Linked DNA regions of Homo sapiens: regions 1, 2, 3, 4, 6 and 7 are each linked to region 5. The links are contacts of gene promoters, found by promoter capture Hi-C in blood cells and fetal thymus (Javierre and others, 2016). All regions are on one chromosome and are shown on one strand. Each heading gives the region's core, a stretch centred on a gene start or on the middle of the fragment in contact. The rest is flanking DNA. Distances are from core to core; before and after follow the strand shown. Region 1 holds the start of KLK6 (kallikrein related peptidase 6). Region 2 holds the start of KLK11 (kallikrein related peptidase 11). Region 3 holds the start of KLK9 (kallikrein related peptidase 9). Region 4 holds the start of KLK13 (kallikrein related peptidase 13). Region 5 has its middle 15 kb from the start of LRRC4B. Region 6 holds the start of MYH14 (myosin heavy chain 14). Region 7 holds the start of KLK4 (kallikrein related peptidase 4).

What was found. The method cuts DNA at HindIII sites, captures the fragments that hold promoters and counts their contacts. A CHiCAGO score of 5 or more calls a contact.
Region 1: the fragment with the promoter of KLK6 here is called in contact with a fragment that was not itself captured in region 5 in 7 of 17 cell types (M1 macrophages, M0 macrophages, total B cells and 4 more); the score reaches 12.3 in M1 macrophages.
Region 2: the fragment with the promoter of KLK11 here is called in contact with a fragment that was not itself captured in region 5 in 4 of 17 cell types (M0 macrophages, M1 macrophages, megakaryocytes and 1 more); the score reaches 8.1 in M0 macrophages.
Region 3: a contact is called between the fragment with the promoter of KLK9 here and a fragment that was not itself captured in region 5, in 3 of 17 cell types (M0 macrophages, M1 macrophages and M2 macrophages). The highest score is 7.2, in M0 macrophages.
Region 4: a contact is called between the fragment with the promoter of KLK13 here and a fragment that was not itself captured in region 5, in 3 of 17 cell types (M1 macrophages, M2 macrophages and M0 macrophages). The highest score is 8.9, in M1 macrophages.
Region 6: the fragment with the promoter of MYH14 here is called in contact with a fragment that was not itself captured in region 5 in 1 of 17 cell types (naive B cells); the score reaches 5.8 in naive B cells.
Region 7: a contact is called between the fragment with the promoter of KLK4 here and a fragment that was not itself captured in region 5, in 2 of 17 cell types (naive B cells and M2 macrophages). The highest score is 7.0, in naive B cells.

What each region holds. Positions count from the first base shown.
Region 1 is chr19:50,968,338-50,971,037 of GRCh38, reverse strand. KLK6 (kallikrein related peptidase 6) reads left to right here and starts at 1,447. Exons shown (of 7, transcript NM_002774.4): 1 at 1,447-1,548; 2 at 2,447-2,497. It overlaps LOC105372442 (a long non-coding RNA gene), which reads right to left. Exons shown (of 7, transcript XR_007067308.1): 4 at 2,685-2,700. The HindIII fragment of the contact is 4,765 bases long and covers 1-2,700 here.
Region 2 is chr19:51,025,257-51,027,956 of GRCh38, reverse strand. It overlaps KLK11 (kallikrein related peptidase 11), which reads left to right and starts at 1,341. Exons shown (of 6, transcript NM_001136032.3): 1 at 1,341-1,419; 2 at 2,291-2,365. The coding sequence starts at 2,326. RefSeq lists enhancers at 30-586, 1,146-1,703, 1,704-2,262. The HindIII fragment of the contact is 2,362 bases long and covers 1-2,067 here.
Region 3 is chr19:51,008,208-51,010,907 of GRCh38, reverse strand. It overlaps KLK9 (kallikrein related peptidase 9), which reads left to right and starts at 1,316. Exons shown (of 5, transcript NM_012315.2): 1 at 1,316-1,403; 2 at 1,569-1,725. The coding sequence starts at 1,361. RefSeq lists an enhancer at 933-1,433. The HindIII fragment of the contact is 11,592 bases long and covers 1-2,700 here.
Region 4 is chr19:51,063,834-51,066,533 of GRCh38, reverse strand. KLK13 (kallikrein related peptidase 13) reads left to right here and starts at 1,442. Exons shown (of 5, transcript NM_015596.3): 1 at 1,442-1,518. The coding sequence starts at 1,467. The HindIII fragment of the contact is 5,030 bases long and covers 62-2,700 here.
Region 5 is chr19:50,582,518-50,585,217 of GRCh38, reverse strand. No RefSeq gene overlaps it. Among named protein-coding and RNA genes, the nearest start is that of LRRC4B, 15 kb to the right of the region's middle. The HindIII fragment of the contact is 176 bases long and covers 1,297-1,472 here.
Region 6 is chr19:50,202,339-50,205,038 of GRCh38, reverse strand. MYH14 (myosin heavy chain 14) reads right to left here and starts at 1,417. Exons shown (of 43, transcript NM_001145809.2): 1 at 1,368-1,417. LOC124904746 (a long non-coding RNA gene) reads left to right here and starts at 1,063. Exons shown (of 3, transcript XR_007067298.1): 1 at 1,063-1,226. The HindIII fragment of the contact is 8,559 bases long and covers 1-2,071 here.
Region 7 is chr19:50,910,026-50,912,725 of GRCh38, reverse strand. It overlaps KLK4 (kallikrein related peptidase 4), which reads left to right and starts at 1,331. Exons shown (of 6, transcript NM_004917.5): 1 at 1,331-1,387; 2 at 1,977-2,048. The coding sequence starts at 1,988. The HindIII fragment of the contact is 22,926 bases long and covers 1-2,700 here.

The DNA.
Region 1 (2,700 bases), core at 198-2,697, 390 kb before region 5:
AGGGTTGAGGCTGCCACGAGCAAGGATCGTGCCACTGCACTCCAGCCTAGGCGACAGAACAAGACCTTGTCTCAAAAGAAAAAAGAACTTTTTTTTTTAAGTTACCTGTAGTGCCCAGCCCAAGCAGGTGCTGAGCCAGACTTCATTCCTATCATTGTCCTTATTACGCAGTGACTTCCCCCTCCTCATTTCTCTCCACTCTGCCACGCACACACCCTCACCCTCCAGCCCATACCAACCACCCCAACCACTGCCTGTGGTTTCCCATGTGCACCCAGGCCAGGCATTTTCACGGCCTTTCCTCCTGACCTACGCCTGGCTCAGCTTTCTAGGCCCAAGTTCAAAGACACCTCCCTAAATCTTCCCAGATCCCTCTGCTACTGCCCAGCACCACCATCTTATCACAGCCCCACGTCGTTCCCAAGTGCTCTCCGATTTCTGCTTAACTCCATGCCTCTCGCTGTGTGTCCGCATCTCATCAATAAGTCCTCAAGTCCTCTTCCATCCTGCTAGCTTCCTCATCGCTCGGGAATCATCCCCGCTACTTCCTGGGGAAACTGACTCCCTTCTGGGCACACACAGTGCTACCCCCGGGGAAATCTAAGAAGAGACCCAGGAGAAGATAAGCACGGAGAGTCAGAGAATCAAGGGGAAAGAAAGGGAGAGAGGCCGGGCACAGTGGCTCACACCTGTAATCCAGCACTTTGGGAGGCCAAGGTGGGTGGATCACCTGAGGTCAGGAGTTTGAGACCAGCCTGGCCAACATGGTGAAACCTCTTCCCTACTAAAAATACAAAAAACATTTAGCCGGGCGTGGTGGTGGGTGCCTGTAATCCCAGCTACTTGGGAAGCTGAGGCAGGAGAACTGCTTGAACTCAGGAGGCGGAGGTTGCAGTGAACTGAGATCACACCACTGCACTCCAGCCTGAGTGACAGAGCAAGACTCCGTCAAAAAAAAAGAAAGAAAGAAAGAAAAGAAGGAAGGAAAGAAAGAAGGAAGGAAGGAAGGGAGGAAGGGAGAGAGGAAGGGAGAGAGGAAGGGAGAGAGAGAAAAAAAGAGGGAGAGAGACACAAATACAGAGACTGAGATGGGAGAGAGAGAGAGATGGAAGCTCCCTCCCCTCCATGGCCAGGGAGACAGATGGAGCAAGAGACCTCAGGGGTGGGCAGACTTGGAGGAGAAGGACCAGGAGGATGTGGAGTGCCGAAATCTCCAGTCAGGGCCAGGTGGGCAGTCAGAGACTGCAAAGGAGGACTGTCAGACAGGGACAAAAGGAAGCCATTGATGTAACCGCCCTCCCGCCTGCCCGCCGGAAGAGAGGTTGAGGCCGGAGCTGCTGGGAGCATGGCACTGGGGTGCTGGGGGCGGACAAAGCCCGATTGTTCCTGGGCCCTTTCCCCATCGCGCCTGGGCCTGCTCCCCAGCCCGGGGCAGGGGCGGGGGCCAGTGTGGTGACACACGCTGTAGCTGTCTCCCCGGCTGGCTGGCTCGCTCTCTCCTGGGGACACAGAGGTCGGCAGGCAGCACACAGAGGGACCTACGGGCAGGTGTGTGAGTCACCCCAACCGCACTGAACCTGGGCAGGCTGCTTCCCAGTGCCGGAGGGCTCTAGAGCCCGGAGTGAGGGCCTGCAGGTCCCTGGGTGGCACAGAGAGTGCTGGGGGTGCAGGGAGGCCTGGGGCACCATCTGCTTGCCCCAGAGGCCGGAATTTGTCTTCAGACACTTTCTTTCTCCAAAACCCGGAGGTCTAAGGACTGAGCCGACTAGAACTTCCTCTGCCTCAGATTCAGGCCCCAGCCCCTCCTCCCTCAGACCCAGGAGTTTAGGTCCTAGCCCCTCCTCCCTCAGACCCAGGAGTCCAAGTTCCCACCTCCTCCCTCAGACTCAGGAGTCCAGGCCCCCAGCCCCTCCTCCCTCAGACCCAGGAGTCCAAGTTCTCACCTCCTCCCTCAGACCCAGGAGTCCAGGCCCCAAGCCCCTCCTCCCTCAGACGCAAGGGTCCAGGCCCCCAGCCCCTCCTCCCTCAGACTCAGGAGTCCAGGCCCCCAAGCCCCTCCTCCCTCAGACCCAGGAGTCCAGGCCCTCACTGCACTCAGGGACCAGTGCTCCCTTCCCTGGAGGCCTGGTCAGGGGTCACCAAGAGCAGAGCGTGGGGGCGGGAGGAATGTGTGTGGGAGGCCTGGGTAAGGAGGAAAAGGGTGTAGCCAGTCTCCTGGCTCAGGGACCTGAGAGACAGGGGTTAAAAGGACGTTCCAGAAGCATCTGGGGACAGAACCAGCCTCTTCCAGGGAGGCCTGGGAGCTGGGGGTGTGTGTCTGGCAGTCCCTGCAGCCCTGGGCTCTGCGGCCCCTGCGTCCTCCGCTTGGCTCTGCCACTGCATCTGAGTGTCTTCTCTCCTCACGGCTCCCCGCATTTCTAACTCTTTCTGCCTCCTCGTCTCAAAGCTGTTCCTTCCCCCGACTCAAGAATCCCCGGAGCCCGGAGGCCTGCAGCAGGTGAGATCACAGACATCACAGAACCTGCCGGGTGGGCGGGGTGGGTGGCCATTGCGCACAGAGCCAGGCTCCGAGGAAAACTCCCATACAGAGGAAGAACGCTAGGGCCCCCTAGGGTAACCCTCTCCTGTCGACAGGAAGGCAAATCAGTGCCCAAGAAAGTAGAAAGATCTAATCAGAATCTCACCATGGGTTACTGGACC
Region 2 (2,700 bases), core at 92-2,591, 440 kb before region 5:
TGGGACTCAAGAGGTGAGGAGAGACCATCTCCCCAAATGCACTGAAGGGAAACTGGAGGAGGGAGGGAGTGAGGGGTGATCATACCAGCGGAGGCACATTTGCTGAGCCCCCCCGCAGTCTGCTCTTTCCAAGTGGACCCTCCTGGAAGCCTGATCCCAACCTCCCCTGCAAGCAGGTCTGTCACCCCCATCTCTCAGATGAAGAAACTGAGCCTTGCAGGGGTGGAGTCCCTTGTCCCCACGTCATAAGGGTAGTCATAGTAGTAGGAAGAGGAAGCACCTAGGTTTGAGGCCAGGGCTGGCTGCTGTCAGAACCTAGGCCCTCCCCTGCCTTGCTCCACACCTGGTCAGGGGAGAGAGGGGAGGAAAGCCAAGGGAAGGGACCTAACTGAAAACAAACAAGCTGGGAGAAGCAGGAATCTGCGCTCGGGTTCCGCAGATGCAGAGGTTGAGGTGGCTGCGGGACTGGAAGTCATCGGGCAGAGGTCTCACAGCAGCCAGTAAGTGAACAGCTGGACTCGGGCTGCCTGGGCGGCAGGGAGAAGCGGGCAGGGGAAGGGTCAGCAGAGGAGCGAGGCCCCAGAGGAGCCCTGGGGTGGAGCACAGCCAAGGGCTCTGTTCCCTTTCCTGGACTCGGCTTCCACAGGCCCTGACCTGCCTCCCCCACCCTCCGGTCCTGCCCCTGTGCCTGGCAGCAGCCCCACCTGTGTGACATCCCAGCACACCCCCCCTCTCCTTGCAAAGGAGAAGGGAGCGGCCTAGGGGAGGCCAGGGGCCCACCTGGGCTGGGGCTGTGGAGAGGGAGTGGCTGGGACGGGAGGAAAAAGAGAGACGGAGATTAGATGGAAGAAGAGGGATTTCAAGACAAATTGCCAGAGATGCAGTCAGAGAGACTGACTGAGAGACACAAAGATAGAAGGAATTAGAGAAAGGGCCACACAGAGCCAGACAGAGAGAGAAGAGTGGAGATGGAGACAGGGACGAGGACAGAGAAAGGCAGACAGACACATAGGGACAGAAAGAGAAAAATCACACAAAGTCAGAATTACTGAATGACAGGGAATGACACATAGAACGAGACACAGATTCAGAGACTCAGGGCAGGGAAAGGAAGGCTGCAGACAGACAGACAGACAGAGGGAGGCTGAGACACAGGGAGAAGAGGGGCTTGGAGAGGTGGCACAGGCAGGCAGCCAGTGCCTCAGAGGCCTCCGGGGAGGGCCCTCACACACACCCCGCCCCGGGGCATTAAGGCAGGGCTTGGAGGCCAGTCATCCTGGGCCCGCCCAGGGCCGCCCCCCTGCCAGCCCGCCTGCCTGGTGCCTGGCACCTGGCGCTCCAACCCAGCCTACCTGCTGTAGCTGCCGCCACTGCCGTCTCCGCCGCCACTGGGCCCCCAGAGCCCCAGCCCCAGAGCCTGTGAGTCCAGGAGGAAAGGGAAGCTGCCCCTCCCCGTCCAGGTGTCAGCCCTCCCCAAGGACACCTGTCCCACTCGGGCACCCATTTCTCCCTCTGCTCTGTCCTTCTCTGCTTGGGTGGGGGTTCCTGGCCTCTCTCTACACCTCTCACCTCCGATGGCTGTCCGCAGCCTCAGTTACCTCTAATCTCCATGGCTTCAGCTGCTGAGCTGGCCCTCTGCTCCCACCCCCGCTGGCCAGGGCAGCGGAGGGCACTGGCCCTCCCCTCGACCAGCCCCGCCCAGCTTTGCTTGGCTGTCCTTCAAAAGGGCAGGGGTTTGGCGGACAGGGCTTCAGCAAGCCGGGTGATGGGGGTCCCAGACATTGTCTGGGGCTGAGCCCCCTACTCCCCTCCAGCAGACCTCAAAGGCTCCATATCGCTCTGCTGCGAAGACAATGAAAAAGGGGTGGCTACGGAACGGTGTCTGGTTCCCCTTGTCCTTCCACCCCAAGCTGCTGGGGCCTGGCCAGCTCTCAAGGCAAGAAGGAAAACATCCTCTGACATGTGCCGGGGAGGTCCCATGGCTGACTTGAACAGGGCCGAACCATGGCTTGACAGCTCAAAGCCCCTCCCAACGACTTCCACATGGTTCTTGGTATCTCGGAAGCTTCTAGCTGTGACCAGGCCCTCTCCAAGGCCACCCTAGACACCTAAGATATATTTTAAGTGTTTGGAGATCTGAGTGCTGTGAGAAACAGGGGATTTCCCCAACCTTGTTTCTCCCAAGTGGGGAGCGGGAGCAGGTGAGGGAGAGAGGAGAGGGCATGAGCCAGCCCCCCCCTCCCGATTTCCCCGTAAAGTGATGCGGCCCCATGTCCCTCCTTGTTCCCAGAGGAACCTGGGGCCCGCTCCTCCCCCCTCCAGGCCATGAGGATTCTGCAGTTAATCCTGCTTGCTCTGGCAACAGGTACGCAGGGGATGGGGGCAGGGCAGGATCCTCCCTCTTGAATCTCTGGGATCCCCTAACCCTCTGTGTCTGGACAGTGACAGGGCTGATTCCAAATTACAGAACAACCCATAAGGCACCTGAACTGGAGCAGTGGTCATGAGGGCCTGGATGCCCTTCTAGATAATCCCTTTAAATGCCAAAGGAGGAGAGGTCAAGGGGGTCGTAAAGGGTCCCGTGGAGGGGCTGAGGAAGCTGGAGTTGGGGGAGCAGTCACTCAAAGCGCCCAGGACAGGGGCTACTGACCAACCAGTATGGAAGTATTTCCTTTTTTTTTTTTCCCAGAGACAAAGTCT
Region 3 (2,700 bases), core at 67-2,566, 430 kb before region 5:
ATGCTCCAAACCATGACGACACAGTGAGAGAACATTCAAGGGGAGCCCAGACCCAGCTTCATAACCAGGCCTGTGAGCAGGAGAAAGTGGAAGGGATCGTAAGTGCCCAGGGGAGGCAAAGATGGACTCTGCCTGAGGATCTCAGAGATTTCCTGGAGGAGGGAGAATTGAGGTTGGGTGTTGAAGGATGAGTGGGAGTTCACCAGGAAAAGAAGGATATGGAGAAAGACATTCACTCATTCAATGAACATCTCCTGAGGACTTCTGCAAGCCCTGTTCCGCCTGGAACGGGGTGATGCTGGGACACAGAGATGAGTCAGACCTGGGCCCAGCCCTCCAGAAGCTGTCCACCTGGTGAGAAGGAATGATGAGGAGAGAGGCAGGGAGGATGGGGTGATGGAAGGGACAATGGGGTGGGGGGCAGGGAGATGGATGAAAAAAATATATAGCAAATGTTCTCAGGATTTGGCAAAGATCAGGATGTATTAAGAGAGAGCACAGGGCACTTGCTACCTGGAAGGTTGGGCACCTGGGTCCTTGGGTGGTGGAGCCGTGGGGAAGGGGGCAGGTTATGACAAGAGTGGGTTAATCCAGATGGAACCAGATTTCTCAACATTCTAGGAGAGGGCCTTGTCCTTGTGGGAAGAGGCCCAAATCCCCAGGGCAGGGAAGGTTCTGCAAGGTGTGTAAACCTGTGCAGCTGCCTGTGGTCTCTGCCTCACTCCACCTGGATTTCCCTCAATCTTTCCCGTGTTCTGTCTCCTCCTCCCACTCCTCCTCTCATCTTGGGTCCTTCTGTGCCTGTACCTCCCTCTCTTTGTATCTTTTGCTCTTGTGTCTGAGTCCTGACTCTGTCTTCCACCCCTCGCCTCCTTTCTGGGTGGTCCCCCTGCACATCCCTCCAGCCTGCCGTGGGAGGTTGGTCTCTGCACACCACTGCTTTATCCAAAATAAACCTGCTGCACCCCAGGACCTTAGGCTTCAAGGATCTCCCTCCTTTTCCAGGACACAAAAGATTCTGTATCTTGTAGCCTAAGGTGATGAGGAATGAGGTCTCCCACTCTGAAGACCCCAGAGGAGGTGCCCACAACCTCTCCACACCCCCAGCACTCCTCCTCCATTCAGTCAAGCTCTGGCCCAGCAAGCCGCCAGTTCATCCCAAAAGGGGGGTCCCCCTGCACTTACCTCCTCTCCCAAGGCCCCTGTCACAGCCCCAGGGCTTCCCCCTCCCCCAGGTACATTTCCCAACCCCGATTAATCACAGGGGCGGCCCCATGGAGGAGGAAGGAGATGGCATGGCTTACCATAAAGAAGCACTGGACGCCGGGTGCACGTTCCAGGATCCAGGTGCCCAGGGGTCATGAAGCTGGGACTCCTCTGTGCTCTGCTCTCTCTGCTGGCAGGTGAGGCTCCCAGGCTGGCTGCCCCTTCACGGCTGTACTAAGGTCACCTTGCTCTTCCCTCCCATCCCAGGCTTCTGCCTCCTGCCCTCTAGGCTTCTCAGCATCCTCTCCCTGCCCTCCCAGCCTGCTCTTCGCTGACCCCTTTGTCCCTCATCCCCACCCCAGGGCATGGCTGGGCAGACACCCGTGCCATCGGGGCCGAGGAATGTCGCCCCAACTCCCAGCCTTGGCAGGCCGGCCTCTTCCACCTTACTCGGCTCTTCTGTGGGGCGACCCTCATCAGTGACCGCTGGCTGCTCACAGCTGCCCACTGCCGCAAGCCGTGAGTGACCCAGGCTGGCCATGCTGGGGAGGGACAGAGGCTGGGGGTCAGGAGAGGGTGAGGGGTGCTTTAGGCCAGAAGTGCGGAGCCTCCACTTCTGATACCACAAGTTCAACTCTTAGAAGTAGGAAGGGTAGCCTCCCAAATCCTAAAATTCTAGAGACCAGCAATATCTCATTTGAGAAGTCTAAGATTCGAAACTTAGGCTCTTCGAATCCGAGACTGACCCAGAGAAATCCAGAATCGTAGAATCCTAAAATCTTGAATTTATGAAATTCTGCAATAGCCTCAGCAAATTTTAGAATCATAGATTCGCAGACTATTAGAATCTTAGCAGTCTGGGTCAGCACTGCCCAGAGGAATTATGATGCCAGCCACATGTGTAAGTTTAAATTTCTGGTGGACACATTTAAAAAATAAGGAATGAGTAAAATTAATTCTAATAGATTTAACTTGACATACCCAAAAACTTATTTTGACATGTAATCAATTTTTAAATACGTATGAACGATACAGTTTACTTTTGTTTTGGTACTAAGCCTTTGAAATCTGTTCTGTATTTTACACACATAGCCTGTTACAAAATGGACTAGCCACATTTCAAGTGTTCAATAGCCATAATGGCTAGTGTGATCCTAGAATCTTAAATTCAGAGCTTTCTAGATTCATTGAATATTGAAACTCACAGTACTAGAATCTTTGATTCACAGTATCCTAGAATATTGAGATTCAGATAATTCTGTAGTCTTAAACTATTTGAATCCCAGACTCTTAAATTTCTAAGGTTATAGATTTATAGAATGATGACATTCTAGTCTTTCTTTTTTTTTTTTTTTTTTTTTTTTGAGACAGAGTCTCCCTCTATCTCCCAGGCTGGAGTGCAGTGGCACAATCTCAGCTCACTGCAACCTCTGCCTCTCGGGTTCAAGCAATTCTCCTGCCTCAGCCTCCTGAGTAGCTGGGATTACAGGTATG
Region 4 (2,700 bases), core at 193-2,692, 480 kb before region 5:
TCTCAAAACACCACCCCTTCCTCCTTCCTCTCCCCCACCCCCAATCCACGTCTTCAAAGCTTTCCGGCTCCTGCTTTTTCCTCTCCACCTAGGTCCCCGTGGACTCCCTCACCCCCTCTGGCCCTGCTCCTAAAAGGCCATTTCTGGAAAATGTTGCTTTCTCAGGTCGCATCTCTGCCCCCATCCAAGTCCGAGGGAGCTGATTTTCTATCCACCCAGCTGATGATTTCCTTCTTGTGTCCGGTGGTTGGCGGGAGCAGGGAGGCAGGATGATGGGATAATTGTGGGTGTCCTTGTGTCTTTCAAAAGAAAAAGGGTTGAGATGAGACTGGGAATTGGAACCTGGATGTGTTGAGAGCTAAACCTGAGATGAGGTTGGAGATGGGACTGGGGTTGAGGAACAGGCTGGAGTACTTGGTATGGTTAGGGATGGATAGGGAGGTGGGAATCTGATAGAACACGGCCATCTGGGGGCTGACTGCCTATTAAGAATTATGCATGGGGTTGGAGAAGAGGTTAGAAAACTGGGTGCAGAATGGGTTGAAGTTAGGGATGGGCATGGAACTCAGCGGGGTAGGGGGAAGGAAATGGGCTTTCCCCTTACCCTTTTTTGGGTCCTGAGGCCTGAAAGTTCACAGTGGGTTCAACTCTGCCTTGGGCGGGGTCAGACCTAGGTCCCAGCACGTCCTGGAAGCTCCGCCCCAAGCAGAGGGCCAAGCCCAGGTCGGGGGTGCCTGGAGACATCCCGCTGAGCCACTGGGGGTGGAGAGGGGGAGGCCAGGGACCAGGAAATGCTGAGTGAGCTGGGGGAGGGAGTTCAGGGGTTAAAAGCCATGGTTCGGGGCTGAAGTTCTAGACAGCTGGCGGCTGACGCTCCTCGTGGGCCCCTCACTCAGGTAGGGTCTGCCTGGGGCGGGGGCGGGGAGCGGAGGAGGGCAGGGAGGGGAGAGAAGAGGGGATAGGAAGGATGGGGAAAGCAGAAGGGCAGCTGAGTCAGGGAGAGGGAGAGTGAAGCTAGAGTCTCAGATCTAGAGAGAAACCTGCAGAGACGGAGAGAGGCGAAGGGCGCGGACAGATAAGAACTTGGGCTAATACCAAGCGTGTGGACAGACCCAGAGGGGTAGAATGGAAGGCAGACTCTGGAGGAAAAGGGCGAGAGTGCACCGACCACCCAGCTCGCCAGAGGGCAGGGGAGGAGGGACGGCTTCCTGGGGTGAGGGGCTGCACGCCGGAGCCCCAGGAGGTTGCACACTGTTCCTCCCACCTCGCCACTGCACCCCCACCAAGGATGGAATTGGAGGCGGGGGGCAGATTCCAGGGTCAGGGCTGTCAAGAGTGAATGAGGCGAGGAGACATTCAGGAGCAGAGAGGTTTCAGACGCGGAGGTTCCGGGCACGCCCTCAACACCCCCTTCACCTTCTCCTCAGGCCCCGCCCGCCCTGCCCTCCCCTCCCGATCCCGGAGCCATGTGGCCCCTGGCCCTAGTGATCGCCTCCCTGACCTTGGCCTTGTCAGGAGGTAAGAATGCGCGGGGGTGGAGGCGCGGCGGCCATTCGGGACAATGGTAGGAGGGGTCAGGCCGGAGGGGGAGGGGGCGTGGGAGCCGCGAGCTCCGCCCCCCGCCCACTCGGGGCCGGGTCCAGTGGGGACAGCTCAGAGCTCTTCCTGCTTGTCCCTGGGTGACCTGGTTTCCCGGCTGAGGTTGGCCCTCCGACCCCAGACCCTTCACCTCCCAAAATACCCTCGCAGCAGCCCCTCCCGCGTTCAAGGCTTCCTGTCCTCTCTGGAAAGCTGAAAGACATGGGTTCGCGTCCTGACGCTGCCGCTTTGAGCCAGTAGCCTAGCAGCTGCTTTGTGCCTAAATTGTTTTCATCTGGAAAATGGGCTTAATCTATAAGTGCTTACCAGAGAAGGTCACTGTGAATATTGAAACGAGGTAATGCGTCGAGCCTTCAGTATGTCGCAGGTAGAAGGGACTTGAAAGTTAGCCACTTAGCCGTTATTACTTTATTAGTAGTATTCCTTTTTTTTTTTTTTTTTTTTTTTGAGATGGAACCTTGCTCTGTCTCCCAGGCTGGAAGGCAGTGGCACGATCTTGGCTTACTGAAACCTCCGCCTCCCGGGTTGAAGCGATTCTCCTGCCTCAGCCTCCCGAGTAGCTGGGATTACAGGCGCCCGCCACCACGCCCAACTAATTTTTGTATTTTCAGCAGAGACGGGGTTTCGCCATGTTGGTTAGGCTGGTCTCGAACTTCTAACTTCAAGTAGCCCGCGTCAGCCTCCCAAAGTGCCAGGATTACAGGCATGAGCCACCGAGCCCGGCCTCTAGTATTCTGTCTTCATACTCAGCCCCTTCCAGAACCTTCTAGATTGTTATTTTAATCCTTGGGTTGACCCCAAACCTATGTGACCTCACCCCAAATTGGTAGTCCTTAAGATCCTTATGGATCTTTCCCATCTTTCCCTGCCGTTGTAGGCAGGTTCTCTGGAAACCCCGTTCATGAATCATTTATTCATTCAACAAACAGCTATTAAACACCGGCCACTGTGCTGGGTGCTGTACAAGCAGAGACACAGTCCCTGCTCTCAGCACCTGGAGTCTAGCGGGGACAGACGCAGATGTTATTCAAACAATTATCCAAATAATTAGTTAATAATTATCTTGACATGAGGTGAAGACTTCAAGGAGCCAAGCCAGGG
Region 5 (2,700 bases), core at 135-2,634:
GCCCACGCCTGTAATCCCAGCATTTTGGGAGGCTGAGGAGGGCAGATCATTTGAGCCCAGGAGTTCGAGACCAGCCTGGGCAACATGGTGAAACCCCATAAATACAAAAATTAGCTGGGTATGGTGGTGGGCACCTGTAATCCCAGCTACTTGGGAGACGAAGGCAAGAGAATCACTTGAACCAAGGAGGTGGAGGTTGGAGTGAGCTAAGATTGCACCGCTGCACTCCAGCCTGGGTGACAGAGACTCTGTCTCAATAACAATAATAATAATAATAAAATTATTAGTCAATAAGGCAGGAGTGGCCAGAAATGGTGGCTTATGCCTATAATCCCAGCACTTTGGGAGGCCAAGGCGGCTGGATCACTTGAGCCCAGGGGGCTTGAGCCCAAGAGTTTGAGACCAGCCAGGGCAAACATGACAAAACCCCATCTCTACAAAAAAATACAAAAATAAGCTGGGCGTGGTGGCAGGCGCCTGTAGTCCCAGCTACTCAGGAGGCTGAGGTGGGAGGATTTCTTGAACTCAGGAGGTGGAAATTGCAGTGAGCTGAGATTGTGCCACTGCACTCCAGCCTGGGTGACAGAGCAAGACTCTGTCTCAAAATAATAATAATAATAATATGGCAGGGCCGGGCACAGAAGCTCACGCCTGTAATCCCAGCACTTTGGGAGGCTGAGTCAGGCAGATCATCTGAGGTCAGGAGTTTGAGACGAGTCTGGCCAACGTGGTGAAACCCCATCTCTACTAAAAATACACAAATTAGCCGGGCATGGTGGTACCGGCCTGTAGTCCCAGCTACTCTGGAGGCTGAGGCAGGAGAATCGCTTGAACCTGGGAGGCAAAGGTTGCAATGAGCTGAGATTGTGCCACTGCACTCCAGCCTGGGCAACAGAGCGAGGCTCTGTCTCTAAAAATAAAAAATAAAAATAAAAATAAATAAAATAAATAAATAACTTAGGAGTGAAATGAAAACAGGCTACAGGTAAAGCAGCATCCCCAGATCACATGTACTCCATTAACACTTAAGTTTTTTTCAGATTTGGCTATAATAAATGATTCTATGAGATACATCTCTGTGTGTATATTTTTGTCTACCTCTCTGATGACTTCCTGAATATAAGTTCCTATGAGTTGAATTGCTGGGTCATTAACAAAAGTTTTCTGCAGAAGCTAAAGCAATTTTCACATTAACTGTTTCATTTAGTTCCTTTTATAAAGCCCAAAGGCATAGCATTACAACAGCTCAGTGATTCCTTCCTCTGCCCATCAAATGAGCAACAAATGTTTTAAGCTTCTACCAAATGCTAGAGAGAGTGCAGCCAAACAGACATGCATGCTGATACTCAGTTGTCAGAAGGTAAATTGCCACAATTTTGGAAAGCAAATTGGTGAAAGGTGTCAAATACAGGAACAATGTCCATACCCTGAAAATATCCCATGCCTGGGAATTCACCTGAAAGTCAGAAGCTTACAAAGAGGTTCATGGTGATATTTTATAATAGTTTTTTTTTTTTTTTGAGATGGAGTCTTGCTCTTCTCACCCAGGCTGGAGTGCAGTGGCGTGATCTCGGCTCACTGCAACCTCGGCCTCTCAGTTTCAAGCGATTCTCCTGCCTCAGCCTCCTGAGAAGCTGGGACTACAGGCGCGTGCCACCATGCTCAGCTAATTTTTGTATTTTTAGTAGAGACAGGGTTTCGCCATCTTATCCAGGCTGGTCTCGACCTCCTGACCTCAGGTGATCCGCCCATCTTAGCCTCCCAAAGTGCTGGGATTACAGGTGTGAGCCACTGTGCCTGGCCTTTATTTTTATTTTTTATTTTTACTTCTTTTTTGAACAGAGTCTTGCTCTGTCACCCAGGCTGGATGGGTGCAGTGGTACCATCTCGGCTCACTGCAACCTCCACCTCCCGGGTTTAAGCGATTCTCCTACTTCAGCTTCCCAAGTAGCTGGGACTATAGGCACGCACCACCAAACCTGGCTAATTTTTGTATTTTTAGTGGAGACGGGGTTTTACCATGTTAGCCAGGCTGGCCTCAAACTCCTGAGCTCAACAGATCCACCCACCTCAGCCTCCCAGAGTTCTGGGGTTATAGGCATGAGCCACCATGCCAGGCCTAGTTTTTGAAAAATAAAATTACCAGAGTATCCAACTAGAAAGGAATGGTTAAATTAACCATGCTGTATCCACTCAACAGAATATTAAGTCAGGGCCTTACTCCTAAAGCATGGCCTTCCTGAGCTTTCAGCTGAGTGCCCAGGAGCTTAGTGAGGCCCTCCCACTCTGGCTGGGCTGGAGACTCATCTCCTAGCGCTGCATGACGGCTTTTATTTCTGTTCATCTCTCATCTTTGTAGCAGCTACCCCCGACTGGTACTCATGGAGTCTTGTCCTCTGCAGACACCGTCCAGTCCTTAGCCAAGGACCTATGGTGAACTACACACAGGCTTCTGGGGGCCCACCTCATGCGGCTCCCTTTTCCCCACTGCCCTATCCTGCAAATTCCAGCCTTGTCAGCAGCCCCCAGAGCCCTCTCTCTGTCTCCTCGGCTCAGTAAGACTGCTCTGGGCCAGGCACGGTGGCTCACGCCTGTAATCCCAACACTTTCGGAAGCTGAGACGGGCAGATCCCTTGAGGCCAGGAGTTCAAGACCAGTTTTGGCAACACAGCAAAACCCCGTCTCTACTAAAAATACAAA
Region 6 (2,700 bases), core at 168-2,667, 380 kb after region 5:
AATGGTATTCTGTCCTGAGCTTCAGTCTCGGGAGTGAAATAAAGACTACATGGTGATAAGAGTACCTACTATGTGTCGGGTATTTTCTCCTCTTAGAACAGCTCTTTGAGATCATAAAATGATTTAAAAAAAAAAAAAGAGGGAGAGACAGGGTCTCTCTCTGTTGCCCAGCTTGGAGTGCAATGCCACGATCATGGCTCACTGCAGCCTTGACCTCCTGGGCTCAACCGATCCTCCCTGCTCAGCCTCCCGAGTAGCTGGGACAGCAGGGTCACGCCACCACGCCCGGCTAACTCTTTTACTTTTTGTAGAGACGAAGTCTCGCTGTGTTGCCCAAGCTGGTCTCGAACTCCTGGGCTCAAGCGATTCTTTCGCTTCCACCTCCCAAAGTGCTGGGATTACAGGCCTGAGCCACTGCGCCCGGCCTAGAATAACCTCAACAACCAATGACATAGGGGTGATCAGCATGTCCATTTCTCTGATGTGGAAACTGAGGCAGGAAGGGTCAAAGTAAGGCACTCAAGATCACACAGCGTAAGAGGGAGGTCTGGAATTCAAGCCTATACCGTTTTCTGCCATTCTAAAGGAGGGGGTCTGGAAAGAACTTGTAGCAGGTCCCTAAAGACATGAATTTCTGCGTCCCAGTTGGTGATTACTACCAACCTGCTTCCCCATCTATGCCACAGGGACCACCGCTTTCCTTAGGGGACTCCTGTGGGACTGAAAAGGTTAAAGGACCCAGCACACAGTTGGTCTCTGGAGTGTTCTTCTCCACCAGGTCCCCCTGCAGTCACCAATTCGGCCCAGTCTCAGCCTTCCCCTCTCTGTATAATGGGTACAATATAACTCACCTCGAGTCAACACGATAAGGAAAGGAAATTATTTAGTTATAAAAAATAAAAGCGTCCAAGTACATCATAGGTTCTCAAATATGTCCTTCCCTACCCCTCCGCCTCTTCCAGTCACGACCCCTCTCTCTGGCCTCCGATTCTGACACGTGAGAACAGAGACATGTCATGCTGGGGGCGGGGGACTGGAGGCGATGACTCAGGTATTAAAGCGGCCGAGGTTCCAAAGACAGCCTCAGTTTCCCCTTCTGCGGAACAGGCCCGGGGCTGACAACGAGGACCCCGACCGGGCCTCGCACACGGCGGCAACTGGAGTTGGGGGAGTGTAGACGTCCCGCCCCCCCACCTCCCTCGCCGCCGTCCCGCTGCGCGCCCAAGGTGAGTGTCCGCGTCACCTCCCCGCCGTCCCCGGCCGCCTGCCCGGGCTCCCGGGCCCCGATCGCAGCCCCCAGGCTCCAGCTTCCCCTGGCTCAGTCCCGTTCCGCCGCCCCCGGAGGGCTGCCGGCCCCGGGCACTCACCGGCTTCCAGGGCCGTCCCGAGGCTTCGGCCTGGGGAGAAAGAGGGGCGTGTCCGCCAGGACAGCCCCGCCCCCAAGAGAGCAGCAGAGGCCAATCGGCGCCCGCTGCGGCAAGCTACGGCCCCGCCCCTGGGGGACGGGAGCCGCCAATCAAAAAGAGCGGCTGGCGGGCTGGGCCAATCAGAAGTTGTCGAAGGGTGCCAGCCGTGGGAAAAGAACGCGGCCCGGGCGCGGAGCTAGGCGGCGCGGTCGGGGGTGGAAGCCGAGGCCTGATGGGCACGGGGCGCCACCAATAGCGAGGCGCGGGGGGCGGCCGGGGGCGGGAGGCCCAAGGGGCCAGGGTGAATGGGCCGCTTTGTGCGCAAGGCATGAATGGGGGCCTTTGTAAGGGCCGGCGTGGGGGGGCCGACCGAAGGCCGGAATGCCTGGGTCCCCCGGGACCCGGCGGGCAGGAGAGACAGGAGACAGAATTCACTTTTGTCGAACGTAGACCATGTACCAGGCACCCTCCCAGGCTCTCACCCACCGGGGAGGTGTGGGCCGTGATACTATCGGAATAACAATGATCGTTTATCAAGCACTTCGATGTAGACCGGGAGCTGTGCTAAGCGCCTTACCTGCATGATCTCATTTAATCCTTACAACGAAGCCCTTGAAATTGGTGCTATTAAGATCTTCATCTTCTAGATGAGGTAACCCCAAGCTTAGAAAGAGGGTGTTAATTGCAGAAAGTCACAGAGCTGGCCGATGGCAGAGCAAGGACTCAGATCCAACCAGAAGTTGTGCTTTTAACCGCCATGCTATGCCCAAACGTGGTAATGATTCCCCATTTACAATTTACAGATGGGAAAACTGAGGCTCAGGAGAGCCAAAAGACTTCCCAAGGTTGGAAGGGTGCCGTGGCTCACACCTGTAATCCCAACACTTTGGGAGGCCAGGGTGGGAGGATCACTTGAGCCCAGGAGGTCAAGACCAGCCTGGGCAACATAGGCCCCATCTCTATTTAAAAGGAAAATAAAAAGAGCCAAGGGCACAAAGGAATGGCTCCACTGAACCCAAGGAGGCCTGCCAGCTTGGCTCGGCTGCTCAGCAGCTGTGTGGGCTCAGGCCAGTTGCTGGACTTTTTTGAGATTCCATTTATTTCTGCACTCGTAAAATGGGAGTGATGGACTGTCTGCCTTCACCCTTGCTCTCCCTACAGTCTACTCTATTCAGATGGGGCCTTTCCTCTGTTCAGAGCCTTCCATGGCTCCCATTTCACTCAGTAAAAGTCTAAGAACTCACCATGGCCAATGAGGTCCTGCGGGATGTGGCTGGCCCTTTTGCTCTCTCTG
Region 7 (2,700 bases), core at 82-2,581, 330 kb before region 5:
CACGCCATCCTTGGCCCCTCTGCTCCTGGCCCCCCACTTTCCATCCATCGGGCAGTAACTTGGCTCCACATGCAGAGGGGACCCCGTGTCCATTCACCTCTCTTCTCCCTTGACCCCGTCACCTCCCACCTGGGCTGTTGCCACTGCCCCCCGCCCCGCCCCCACCATCACTCTCCAAGCTGGAAGTTTTTAAAAAGTAAATAAGATTATGTCACTCCATCCTCGTGCTTAAAATCCATTGCACTTAAGTAAAACCCAAGCTCCTTAATCCTGGTACGTAAACTCCTGCAGGCCCGCCCGGTTCCCGGTCTGCGCTCCTACCCGCCCTGCCCTCCTACCCGCCCTGCCCTCCTCTGGCTGGAGCCAAGTTCTCCCCTGCACCCCGCAACCGCCCCTGCTGCGGCGACCCTCCTCCTCCTCTTCCCTGGGATCTCAGCTTAAATGTTCCCCTTCTCTGAGTCTCCCCGACCACCACCTTATATGCTGGTCCCTGCAGTTTTCCTTTATGGTCTGTGCCCCCGGGTAGGACGCGATCCCCAGTGACGAGGACTTTGCTGGTTCCTCCTGTGGCCCCAGCACCTGCCGCAGAGCTCGGAGTGTGGTAGGCACTCAGCTGCTTTTCACTGAGCGAAGACTTTTTAGTTCTCCCGCTCACCGAGAGCCTACAATGTGCCTGGCACTGTGTGCCTTTCCCTGAATTACCTCTTTGAATCCACTTGGGAAATGGGGCATAATGGTCACTCCAGTTTTACAGTTGGAAAAACAGGCTCACAGGGGTGCAGTCACTTGCCCAAGGTTCCAAAAATAGTTCGTGATGTAGGCTGGATACGAACCTGGGGAAATTTGCTGGAGAAGCACAGAAAGAGAGGGATGAAGGAGGAGGGGAGAGAGAGAGAGAGATTTAATTTAAAAAGAGAAAGAACATGAGAGAGAACAGGAGAGAATGAGAGGAAATGAAAGAAAACACGAGAAAAATAATGAGAGAGAGAATGAGAGAAAGAAAGAAGAAGAGAAAGAGAAAATGAGAGATACAGGCAAGAGAGAGGTATCTCATGAGAGAGAATAAGAACATGAAAAGAGAAAGAATGAGAGAGAGAGAGAGAAAGAAAAAGGAGAGTGGAGTCTAGGATCTGGGCAGGGGTCTCCTCCCTGGGTCCCTAGACCCTGCTGCCAGCCCCTTCTGGGCCCCCAACCACTGCCTGGTCAGAGTTGAGGCAGCCTGAGAGAGTTGAGCTGGAAGTTTGCAGCACCTGACCCCTGGAACACATCCCCTGGGGGCAGGCCAGCCCAGGCTGAGGATGCTTATAAGCCCCAAGGAGGCCCCTGCGGGAGGCAGCAGGCTGGAGCTCAGCCCAGCAGTGGAATCCAGGAGCCCAGAGGTGGCCGGGTAAGAGGCCTGGTGGTCCCCCACTAAAAGCCTGCAGTGTTCATGATCCAACTCTCCCTACAGCTCCATGTCGCTGGATTCTCAGCCTCTGTGCCTTCTGTCTCCACATCTCTCTAGACAGATCTCTCACTGTCTCTAGTTAGGAGTCACTGTCTCTAGTTAGGGGTCTCTCTGTCTCTCTGAATCTATATCTCCATGTCTAACTCTCAGACTGTCTCTGAGGATATCTCTCAAGCACTCTGTCTCTCCGGCTCTGATTCTCTGTGTGTCTTCCCTCCATGCTTGTTTGTGGGTGGCTAGACACCATCTCTCCCCATTCACAGATGGCTAGATGCTTTCTCTAAACTTTCCTTTCTACCTAGTTCTCTCTCTCTCTCTCTTTTCCCATCTCTCTCTCTCTTTTTCTCTCTCAGTCTCTAAATCTGTCTCTCTAGGTTCTGGGTCCATGGATGGGAGAGGGGGTAGATGGTCTAGGCTCTTGCCTACCTAATAACGTCCCAGAGGGAAGAAAGGGAGGGACAAAGAGAGGGATGGAGAGACTTGGGCTGAAGATCCCCAGACACGGCTAAGTCTCAGTCCTCATCCCCAGGTGCTGACGTGATGGCCACAGCAGGAAATCCCTGGGGCTGGTTCCTGGGGTACCTCATCCTTGGTGTCGCAGGTATCTGAGTATGCGTGTGTGTGTCTGTCCGTGCTTGGGGGCACAGTGTTTGTTAATGTTCAGGTGTGACTCAGTGTCCTCTTGCTTGTGACTGCAAAGCTGCCTGTGAGACGGTACCGTGTTATCCGTCCCCCATGGCTGTGCCCCTGCAACTCCTTGTATCGTGGTAAATTTGTGTGTGGCAGTGTGCCTGGGTGTGTGGTTGTACCTGTGAGACTCTGACAGTTTGTGCCTCTGAATATCTGGTGGAGTGACAACAGTGTAATGATGATATGGGGACAGGGGAAGCCGAGGGTGCAGGAGATTGTGCTTCCTGGGGCGTGATCCATTGCTGGGAATCTGTGCCTGCTTCCTGGGTCTTCAGTCCTGAGATCCCCCTCTCCCATCCCCAAGGAACTCACCTCACAGGACTATAAAACGGTGTTTTGGTGTGCATGGGCTTGTGGCTTGGTGTGACTGTGGGCAAGGCTGGGAGAGGATAGGAGTGACTCGGCGCAGGACCGACTCTTTGAGCATCAGTCTGCGCAGACAAGTGACCCGATCCTTGCTCCCAGCAACAACTCCACCCCCTGAGCTTTAATTCACCCCGAAGGACCCGATCCTACTGCTATGAGCCTAGACTCCTCTGTTGAACCCCTCCTGACCGTGGCTT